2 separate regions of the Homo sapiens genome follow, and region 2 is linked to region 1. Evidence: promoter capture Hi-C in human tissues and cell types (Jung and others, 2019). All regions are on one chromosome and are shown on one strand. The core of a region is centred on a gene start or on the middle of the fragment in contact, and the rest is flanking DNA. Distances in the headings are between cores, read along the strand shown.

Evidence for each region. The method cuts DNA at HindIII sites, captures the fragments that hold promoters and counts their contacts. A contact is called where the count stands out against the background at its distance.
Region 2: a contact is called between a fragment that was not itself captured here and the fragment with the promoter of ZIC5 in region 1, in 1 of the 25 tissues and cell types used here (H1 embryonic stem cells).

Annotation. Positions count from the first base shown.
Region 1 is chr13:99,969,543-99,975,166 of GRCh38, forward strand. It overlaps ZIC5 (Zic family zinc finger 5), which reads right to left and starts at 2,225. Exons shown (of 2, transcript NM_033132.5): 1 at 585-2,225. The coding sequence starts at 2,061. RefSeq lists enhancers at 4,672-5,214, 5,215-5,624. The HindIII fragment of the contact is 23,774 bases long and covers 1-5,624 here.
Region 2 is chr13:100,570,931-100,576,554 of GRCh38, forward strand. All of the region lies in intron 2 of GGACT (gamma-glutamylamine cyclotransferase), which reads right to left. Among named protein-coding and RNA genes, the nearest start is that of GGACT, 15 kb to the right of the region's middle. The HindIII fragment of the contact is 4,454 bases long and covers 1,217-5,624 here.

The DNA of each region.
Region 1 (5,624 bases), core at 975-3,474:
TTCCGAAAGCGCATTCCTGTCTTCCCGGAGGGGTCCCTTCCCCTCCCGGAAGGCCTGCCTCGGGCGGCCCAAATCCGGCAGCAAATCCCACGCCCGGTCCTCGGAGCGCGGAGACTGCGCGGGGCCTACGACCCGGTGGGAAGAGAGGCGCTTGCCGGGGCGGCCCGGCCTCTCTTTCCATCGCCCTCCCAGACTTCCCAGGGCCGGGCGGGTGGGGACTGCCGACCGTCCTGGGCGCCTTCCTGCTCCAGCTGCTGCTGCGTCTGCTCCGAGGTGGCGGCGGCGGCGGCTGGCGCGCGTTGCGGGTCCCGGCCGAGGGGCTGCGGGCGCGCTGGAGACTCCGCCGTGTGGGAACCCAACGCGGGGCCTGTGTGTGCTATCGAATTACTTATTCATAGAAAAAAAAAAGGGGGGGAGAGAAAAAAAAAGAAGTCACATGTCCGGGTTATACGTATGCGAAGAGAAGCAGCAGAAGGAGAAAAAAATTAAGGCGAGCAGGAGGAGGAGGAGAAGCAGCGGCGGAAGCGGCGGCGGCGCAGGAGCTGGTGGCGGCGGCGGCGGCGCGGCCGGGGACAGACACCCACCTGTATGAGTACGCTTGTGGATCTTGAGGTTCTCGGAGCGCGCGAAGACCTTGCCGCAGCCGGGGAAAGGGCAGGGAAAGGGCTTCTCGCCGGTGTGCACGCGGATGTGGTTGATGAGCTTGTATTTGGCCTTGAAGGGCTTGCCCTCGCGCGGACAGTCCTCCCAGAAGCAGACGTGGCTGCTCTGCTCGGGGCCTCCCACGTGCTCCACCGTGACGTGATTCACCAGCTCGTGCATGGTGCCGAAAGTTTTGGAGCAGGGCTTGGCGCCGCCGGCCGGGGGCGGTGGCGGCGGCGGCGGCGGCGGCGGCGGCGGCGGCGGCAGCCCGGCCAGCTCGTCGGGGTCGATCCACTTGCAGATGAGCTCCTGCTTGATTGGCTGCCGCATGTAGCGCAGGAAGGCCCCAGCCGCCCCTGGGAGGTGGGGGTGGTGCTGGTGCGGGTGCTGCGCGGGCGCCGGCGGCGGCGGCGGCGCCGGGGGCGGCGCGTGGTGCTGCAGGTGGGGCCCGGGCCCGGCCGCTGCTGCGGCCGCCGCAGCCGCCAGGTTCAGGTTTAAGTTCACGGCTCCGTAGCCGTGCAGGGCGGCCGCCGCTGCGGCCGCAACCGCCCCGTAGTGCGCGTCCCCAGAGCGCGGCGCGAAGGGCGGTTCGGCGCGGCCGTACAGCTCAGCCGCCGCGGCTGCCGCTGCCGCCGCCAGCCCCAGGCGCATCTGGCCGTTGAGCGGGTGCGGGTGGCCGCCTGGGGCCCCCGGCGTGTCGTGCAGCGCGGGGAAGAGCGCCGGGCCGCCGCTGCCGTCCGGGCCCGCGTAGGTGCCGCTGGCGGAGATGAACATGCCGGCCGAGTGGGGAGGCGGGGCCGGGTGCTGGGGGGAGCCGGTGCCGGACCGCTGCTCCCCTCCGAGCGGGGCCCCGTGCATGGCCGCCGCGGGGGCCGTGGCGGAAAGGTCCCTCCGGAGGACGAAGTCCCTGCTGTGGCCTTTGCCGCTGCTGCCGCCGCCGCCACTGTTGGTGGTGGTGTAGCCCGAGAGGGCAGGAGGAGGAGGAGGCGGGGGAGGGGGAGGGGGTGAAGGGGTGGGAGGAAGAGGAGGGGCTGGGGGCGGGGGCGCGGAGGGCTGCGCGCCACTGCTGCCCCCGCCGCAGGGGTAGCTGCCCGCGCCGGGGTGCGCGACCAAGGCTGCAGCACGGGCGGCGGCTGCCGGAGCCTCCGGGTGTGCCGGGAACGCCTGGGAGGGAGGGCTGAGGCCCAGCGTGCTCGCCTGGGCCATGTGCTCGGGTCCGAGCGGAGTGGTGGCCACGCCGGGGTCAGCGCCCAGGTCCCGCAGGCGGAGGTGCGCGACGGCGGCCCGGAGTTGGGAGTGGGCGGGCGGGCCGGCCAGCGCCGGGAAGCCTGTCATATTCTGAAGCGGCTGGACCTGAGCCGTTGCCAAATCCGCTAATCTCAGCGCTGGCGGGTTCCTCTTGCTCAAAGGGGGCTCCATCAGAACTACACAATCAGGCCCATAGACCCTCACTGGGGGGACTTTATTCCCTCTGCCCGCCTTCAAAAACATGTATGTATTGGGCGCTCTTTAACTTCTTTTGTCCTGGCCTCTTAACTCTGCTTATTCCTGTTCCCACTCTATCCTCCAGCGATTGGCAGAGTGAACACCACATTTGAGCTGCACAGTGGGACCGAGATTTTGGAAATGGCACGGGTGGGATTGGAGGGAGCCGCGTGATTGGCAGTAGCCTCGGCTGCTCGATTGGCTCCCGTTCAGGCCCTCGACCCAGCGGGGATTCGCCCCCGTGCTTGCGGCCGCCTGCGCTTTCGCTTCGCGCCCCCTCCTCCGCTGGAGCCACACGTCCCCGCCTCCCCGGGGATGCCCAAGTTGCACTTGCAGAAAGTTTGAGCCTGGCCTGCGCGCGCAGCGCCCCGCTCTTCCTTGACGCACCTCGCGGAGCGCGCGCCGGCACGCGGGCAGAGGGCGCGGGGTGGTGAGGGGCTGAGGACCCCCGAGGGGCAGTCCCAGTTTCAAAAACCTTGGCCTCACTTCTCTGTGTGCCTTCTGGCACCCAAGTACTTTCTGCCTCTACCTCCACCTCTCTTGTGGGGTGGAAGAGCCCTGGGCTGCTGTTTGGGAGAGAAGGGTGAATAGCCCGTCCTACCTGTAGTGGTGATGCTAGAAACTTCTTGTTTGGACACCCAACCTGCCTAGCGCTCACCTAGGGCGCATAGACAGTAGACGGAGTGAAGAAGATAAAGTCTATTGGTTGCAAGACAACTTGAGTGATTTGGCTCCGCGAAACACCAGGTGAAGTCAAAATAAGTCTTTCCCCCAAAGGAACCGTTTTACCTCGACTTTTTATCTCATGGAGAGTCCTTTTCAACATGGTTCAAAGGAGTTGGATGGAAGTGTAATCTCACTACTCATCGGTTCTAGATCTGCCACTTCCAATTAGATCTACAGTAGGGGCGGGGGAGAGGAGATCGGGCAGCGATTCTAACTTTTGCCTTTCGGAGATACAGTGGCGGGGCAGGCCAAACGGCATCTCTGCAGAGAGAAGCCGCTAAATAAGCACCGTCCTTTAAGTAGAATTTCTCCTTCCGGTCCAGATCCCAGTCCACAGTCCACATGTATGCCTCAGTTTCTTTGACTGATCCACAATTAGAACTGATCCAATAAAATATTATTTTGAAATCAAGAAATATCTTTGCTTTTTATTTACTGATAGAATAATCTTTCACCTTTTTATCGTTTTCTCATAAACCAGTCTACCTCTAAGATGTCTTATTTGAAAACCATAAAAACTGGCTTTTAAAAAAGCGAATCCCATCCCTTTCCAGAGGTTTGGTATCAAATCGATTTTTTAAAAATAGAAATTCCCTGCATCACTTTTTGGTGGGCGGAGAAATGTGGGACCCTCCCCCCAAATTAAGGATTTTACTGCCCCAAAAGTGTCCTTTTCAGATTTTAAAAGAAAGCATTTTTGAAATTTGTGATGTTACAAAATGCTCAAATATTAAAGCCAGGATTTTAAAATTTGTATTTTGCTGTCATCCGTAACATTACTTGTAAAAAAAAAAAAAGTGATAATGATTAGAATGTGATCTTTTTCTTTGGGGATACAATAAAATATGTTTCCAACTTAATTCATTTGCAGTCCAAGTAAAAGTAGACTGCACAAAGCCGTTATTGGGGAGATGGCCGTGGGAAGTAATCAGAAATATTCTGAAAAGAGTTGATTCGATAGTGCCATTCACATTGGTGTGAACGATGTTTAACAGGGGGCTTCGGTATGAGACTTAGGAATGTCATTTCTTTTATAAAACTGACAAGCAAACAAAGACAATGCTACCATCAAATTTCAAATGGACTTTTTCTTTAAGTTGCAATGAAGTTCAAATATGGGGAATTAAAGGCATGTGTGGAAACACAACGAAAAAATTTTAATAAACAGCAGTAACAAAATCTTCATCTCACTTTGGAAACGACGAGTCCTTTCACAATTTTTATGTCAAAGACTTAAAACATTTCAAGCCAACCAGGCAAAGGTTGATCGAGAGCTGTGCCATCTCTATGGATAGTTTATGGAGAAAGCATCATATTTGGAATTATCACTGTCATCGTTTCCTCTCTGAACATTTCCAATGAGTTTCCTTTATTTGAATTTCTTGGCAATAAGCATTAATTCTTGCAGTAATGGCAGCTTTGGGTTCAATCCTGCAGGTTATAAGTAAAAACAAAACAAAACAAAATGAATAAAGAAAGAAGAAAATAAACACAAGCTAGCCTTTAATATGGACTGTTGAGCATTTTTATTGTGCAATAAAATGGGTACCTCCACCCCCTTCAAAATAGCTTTTCGTCAAAATTATAACTGCTTTGTTTTATTGAATTGCTGAAATTTAATGGTTTAATGGGTGAAGGCATGAAGGAAAGGCTGTAAAAATGTGAATAATGGTGTAGCAGAGCCGTGCGGAATCTGGAACCCGCCTCCTTGTACAACTCTTGTTAAACACAGCGTGATATGTATCTGTCATCGATTTAATATGTCTTAATTCAAATATAGCTCCCTGATCAATTTCTTTTTATGGAAGCCTTAAAAAAGAAAAGACTTTCTTAGGAAATAATAGAGATTTGGGTAGCGATAGGAAAGAGGGATATTTACAAAGTGAGTTTAATGAATATTTGCAAATTTATGACCAAACCTAGACCCTAAAAAGATAATTGACTCAGGTAAATCGACTTGAGATGCTAATTCTTAAAAGAAAAGACTGGGAGCAAAATTTCAATCAACACCAATAAGGCGCCAATAAACCGCCTGCCAATTAAACCTGAGAATAGGCCTAGCTAGATGGTCATCAGGAAGGCTTGCAGTGGATTTCCGGGATTGCCTTTCTTTATAAAAGAGCTTTTTATTTTGTAGAAGCGCTTTTTGTTATTGTGATGACCCGCCTGACCCCAGGTGCGCTGTTTCTTTTTCAAGCTATTTGGGAGCCAAATCAAACCCCCTTAACATCCCAAGTTTCTGAAGACCCAATAATTCTGTCACACTTCCTAAATAAACACCAACAATTTCCAGGGCGCTGAAGGGAATAATAATACTAGTTTTAAAAGCAGGGGGCTGTGGAAGGCGTTATGCCAATTCTTCTGGGGGTTTGGCCCGCATATTTCGACGGTGGTGCTGGTCGTCAGGGCCAGTCCTCAAATCCATGCCCCTTTCTGCGTTTTGCAGCGGAGGTGCCTGCGTGGAGGCAGCAAAGTGGCAAGCCATGGAAATGTCCTTTCTGGAGTTAGCAAGGGCTCTTGCGGGGCGTGTATTTCCAGACCTCTAGGTTGCACCCCGAACCCCAACCTCCTTCCAACCCCAGACAAAGGCGCGAGTAGGTTGGGGAGGTGAGAGGCCCAGTAAATGGCCAGCTAACCAGAACCCAGGTTGGCTGAGTTAACCGCGCTCAGCTGCCTGGAGGCCACGGGACCCGATCTCTGGGGATGCTCGAGCTGGCGCTTGCGGCTTCCCGCTGCGCGTAGTGGGGGACTGAGGCTCCACCGCTCCCCCG
Region 2 (5,624 bases), core at 2,194-4,693, 600 kb after region 1:
AAAATGTTGTGATTGGCCTCCCCGAGAGATTGCTCAGTCTCCAAGAAAACGACCCCCTATGAGGACAGTTTATAGCCCTTGAGCTGTGTGAAAACACAGTGCCAGAATGGATCAAAGCTCCAGCCCAAAACACCATGGCATTAAAGAGACAGGGAAGCAGAGAGCAGTGACAACAGTCCTAGCTCTCTGCCAATCCAAAGGAAAGAAGGGAAAAAAGGGAAGATAACAGTGTCGAGGAGGATAACCTCAGATACATGGGAACTGGCACATGAGAAGCACACTTTTGTAAGTAGGGAGATTTATTTTGCAAAATCCCCCAGCAGGCAAGCCTTGGCAATACATTTCAGATGAACTCATCCAAACTGATGCTGTGTCTTCGCAAGGAAAATTGAAAAGACTGTATTTAATGCAAAGATATTACAGTTTTTCTAATGATCATATAGAAGTGCCATTCTTTGATATTGCTCTAATATCCTTCAGAACACAGATGTGTATGCTGTGCAGCAGAAGAAAGTGTGGTGTAGACAGAGAACATACTTTCTTTTTTTAGTTTTAATTTTAATTTTTGTAGAGACGGGGTCTCATTTGGCCAGGCTGGTTTCAAGCTTCTAGCCTCAAGCAATCCTGCCACTTCAGCCTCCCCAAGTGCTAGGATTATAGGCATGAGCCACTGCACGCGGCCCAGAGGACACACTTTACAACTAGATGTACTTCATTTCAAAGTCATGTAAAACCCTGCCGTGTTTCAGCTGTGTGACCTTGTTCAGGGTGTTTCATCTCTGTGAACCTCAGTTCCAATTCCCTACAAATGGGGATAATAATGCCCACCTCAAACATTGATGTATGGAGATAATGTATGTATATATACATTCTGGCCCACACATGATCTCAATAATTCTTACTCCCTCTGAGAGAAGGATAAATCACAGAACTACAAGGACTAAATAGAATATATCACAGATATAATAATGCCTTGCATATATCTTGTATCCAATAAGTCTTAACCTTTTTTAACTTACTCAAACATACAAAAAGCCATACACTAGTTATCTGGTATGGTTGACTGGTGTTCTTTATTATGAAATTTAACCTTTTGTGTGCAGGAAAAACCTGTATAAGCCCTTCTCTGCATTGGTCTGCACAGTATACTAAAAATGACATAGCTCATGCACGTTCCCAGCATCAGCCAAGGGTTGGACGCAACCCAAGTGTCCACTGACAGAGGAAGGAATAAACAAAATGTGGGGTATACACACAATGGAATATTACAGAGCCTTGAAAAGACTGAAAGGAAGGAAATTCTGACCCATCCTACAACAAGGATAAGCCTTGAGAACACTATGCGAAGCAAAATAAGCCAGTCCACAAAAAGACAAATGCTGTAAGATTCCACTTTTATGACATACCTAGAGTAGTCAAATTCATACAGACAGGAAACAGAATGGTGATTACCAGGAGCTGGGGGACGGGGAAAATGGGGAGTTGTTTAATGGATATAGAATTTTAGTTTTAAAAGATGAAAATGTTCTCAAGGTTGGTTGCACAACAATGTGAATATACTTAATACTACTGAACTGTACACTTAAAAATGGTTAAGATGGTAAAATTTATGTGTTAATGTTTAAAACATTTATTTATTTTTGTAGACAGGGTCTTGCTATGTTGCCCAGGCTGGGGTGCAGTGGCTATTCACAGGTGTGATCATAGTGCACTGCAGCCTCAAACTCCTTGCCTCAAGGTATCCTCCTGCCTCAGCCTCCAGAGTAGCTGGGACTACAGGCGTGCACCACCACACCAGGATAAAAAACATTTTTCAGATGATGTAAGCTTTTCATAAGAATGCAGAGTCCTCAAACTGATTAATGATGAACTGTGCTGCAGGTACATTTATGCATTTTGCTGCCCAGAGCTGTAGCTGTATCTAGCTTCAGGGTGTACTCTAGAACTTGCTTTCCTGAACGAATATCTGGGGTTTCTTAGGATACAGCTGCTAAAGGAAAAAAATAGAACTTGACATCTTTTGCTATATAATGGCATCTTTTATTAATACCCTTGGAGAAGCATAGGGTATTAAGGCTGGAAAAAGTTTAGAAAGTACATTTTAAAGTTGAATATGAAATCTACACTTCAATCCAACTAAAAGATTTTTCTAAGACCATATAGGTAGCAATCACAAGAAGAGTGGGAGAGAAGCGGCATCTTCCCAGTTTCCTCTACAATCCTCTTGACACCCACAGTCCACTGGACTTAGCTCTCCACAAGTCCTTACCTTTGAACGTCACTGTTTACTACACTGCCACCAGGGGGCAGCAGCTATATTAGTCTGGTATTCTAAACACCCTGGACTAAGGCCCAATACTCTTCCATTACCCCTTCCCCCATCCCATGAAATATGTGCATATATGTGCATATATGTGACTTCATTGAAACAATCTCAATAAGCCAGAAGTTTAAAAGAGACCCATATATAACTTTTTAAACAAAACAAAGACTTGAGTCCAATGGATGTAACACCCTTACTAATCCTTTACTATTTCTGATTTATTCCAATCCCAACAGATGTAATGGTCAATTAATATGTTAGGTTCTTTATTTGTTTGTTTTGAGAGATGGGGTCTCAGTATGTTTCCTAGGCTGGTCTCAAACTCCTGGGCTCAAGCAATCCACACGCCTCAGCCTCCTAAAATGCTAGGATTACAGGTGAGGGCCACTGTGCTTGGCCTAATATGTTAGTTTTAAAACAAAAACTACTCGAACACAGGATCAACAAGCAAAAAACAAATAAACCCATTAAAAATGGGCAAAGGACATGAACAGACACTTCTGAAAAGAAGACACACAAGTGGCCAACAAACATACCCAAAAAAGCTCATCTTCACTAATCAGAGAAATGAAAATCAAAACCACAATGAGATACCATCTCACACCTGTCAAGATGGCATTATCAAAAAGTCAAAAAAAAAAAAAAAACATGCTGGCGAGGCTGTGGAGAAAAGGGAATGATTATACACTGTGGAAATGTCAATTAGTTCAGCTACTGTGGAAAGCAGTTTGGAGTTTTCAGAGAACTTAAAACAGACCTACCTAGCAATCCCATTACTGGGTACACATCCAAAGGAAAATAGATCATTCTACCAAAAAGACACATGCACTCATATGTTCATTGCTGTACTATTCACAACAGCAAAGACATGGAACCAACATAGGTGTCCATCAACAATGGATTGGACAAAAAATGTGGCACATATACACCATGGACTACTACAGTCATAAAACAGAAAGAAATCATGTCCTTTGCAGCAACATGGATACAGCTGGAAGCCATAAGCTTAACTGAATTAACACGGGAGCAGAAAACCTGGCCGGGCGTGGTGGCTCATACCTGTAATCCCAGCACTTTTTGGGAGGCTGAGGCCGGTGGAATCACTTGATGTCAGGAGTTTGAGACCAGCCTGGACAACATGGCAAAACCCTGTCTCTACTAAAAATACAAAAATTAGCTGGGTGTGGTGGTGCACACCTGTAGTTCTAGCTACTCAAGAGGCTGAGGCAGAAGAATCGATTGAACCTGGGAGGCAGAGGTTGCAGTGAGCTGAGATTGCACCACTGCACTCCAGCATGGGCAACAGAGCGAGACCCCATCTCAAAAAAGAAAGAAAACCAAATACCACGTTCTCACTTATAAATGGGAGCTAAACACTGAGCACACATGGACATAAACCTGGGAGCAAGAGCCAGTGAAGATACTAGAGCAGAGAACGGAGGGAGGCAGGGGTTGAAAATGACCCACTGAGTACTATGTTCACTACCTGGGTACAATATGCTCTGTAAAAAACCTGCACAGGTACCTCCTGTATCTAAAATAAAAGCTGAACTAATAAAAAGAAATTAACAGAACTGCTTCCTCCAGAATATCATATAATATATAAATCATACTTATGTGTATTAAAAAAAAAAGAGACAGAAATCTATCCAATTTAACACTTGAAACCAAATCTTCCCTACACTTGGCCTCTGAGGTTTCAGCCACAGCAACCTCAAGAGCCCATCTGATGTCTGTCCTCAGTCTTCCTTTGTCAGCTCAGTTTTTCCTTTGTGATGTCCCTATATTAGAAAGGAAGGTCTGCCAATAGGTCGAACCCTCCAGCAACTTTTCAGAAGGAAAAACAGGGAGATTCCAGTCACAAAATAAAACCTATATGCTAACGTTCTTCCAAGTAGATGACAGGAATCTTCGTTCTGTGTCTTTTAAATACTACCACCAACTGAGAGCCTATACCATAGCAGTTAACGGGTGAGGTTTGAATTTACAGAAGGACCTCCATTAGCAATGACCTGTGTACCCAGAGACTTTCCCAGTTTCATCGTAGGGGAGGAGTGAGAGATGACAAACATTAACAGTGGCATTTTAGTAACTAATCTAGGAGTCAACTCCAGACTTTCAACCAATAGTGATCAGAGACTACTGTTCCTAAATCAGACAAAGAGATAGATGCATGATTTTTGTTTCACAAATTTCGACTTGTTTTCTTCTTTGAGCTCACCATGTTTTAATAAGGAAAAAGGTATTCAAATGCAAACTTTGACTACTGCTTCAGACACACTGGAGCAGCCCATTAAAAAAACTATGATGGGATCAGCCCAGGCAACATAGCAAGGCTCCATCTCTACAAAAAATTTAAGTTAGCAGGATGTAGGTGGTGCACAACTGTGGTCCCAGCTACTTGGGAGGCTGAGGCAGGAGGATCACTTGAGCCCAGGAGGTCGAGGCTGCTGTGAGCTGTGACTATGCCATTGCACTCCAGCCTGGGTGACATAGTGAGACCCTGTCTAAACAAACAAACAAACACTACAATGGTGTTTGCTACAGTTAAAGGGCATTCAAACAAATTACTCTCTGCTGACATCCAGTTTGTTCTCATGTAATCAACTATTCATCGACCGATCCAATCTAGCATAAAACTGATGGCAAAAGCAAACATGGCACTACTAGTTACTACTACTAATGGTCAAACAGGAATGAGATGCTCAGGAATGAAATGCATATAATGAATGGATCTTGCATTGCAAAATGCATTGTGAATTCAGTTATTATTTTGTAATACTTTGCCAAATATAATCTCTTAATTAGTGAGATTTGAGAATGACTCTTATCTATATAATATCCTGGCTTTTTCAGTATACTTACCATATTTCAATGTAAAAAATCAGAAAACCAATATTTATTTTGAAAACAGGTATATGAATTTAATCCAATAACTTGTAAGAGAATTATTAAAAACAAATTTTTGTAATCTCAAAAACCTAATAAAAATAACACATCTATTAGGATGGCTCAAATAAAGAAACACCAAATTGATAACATGAGATGCTGAGAAGGATGTGAAACAACTGGAACTCTCACCATTGCGGGTGGGAATGCAAAGCAGTACAGGCATGGTGGAAAGTGTCTTATAAAATTAAATCTAGAACTTTCTTACAAAATTATGACCCAGCAATTGCACTCCTAGGAATCTACCCTAGAAAGATGAAAACTTTTCTTCAGATAAAAACCTGTATATAAGTGCTTACAGCAGCTGTATTCAAAATCACCAAAAACTGTAAATAATCCAAATGGCCCTCCA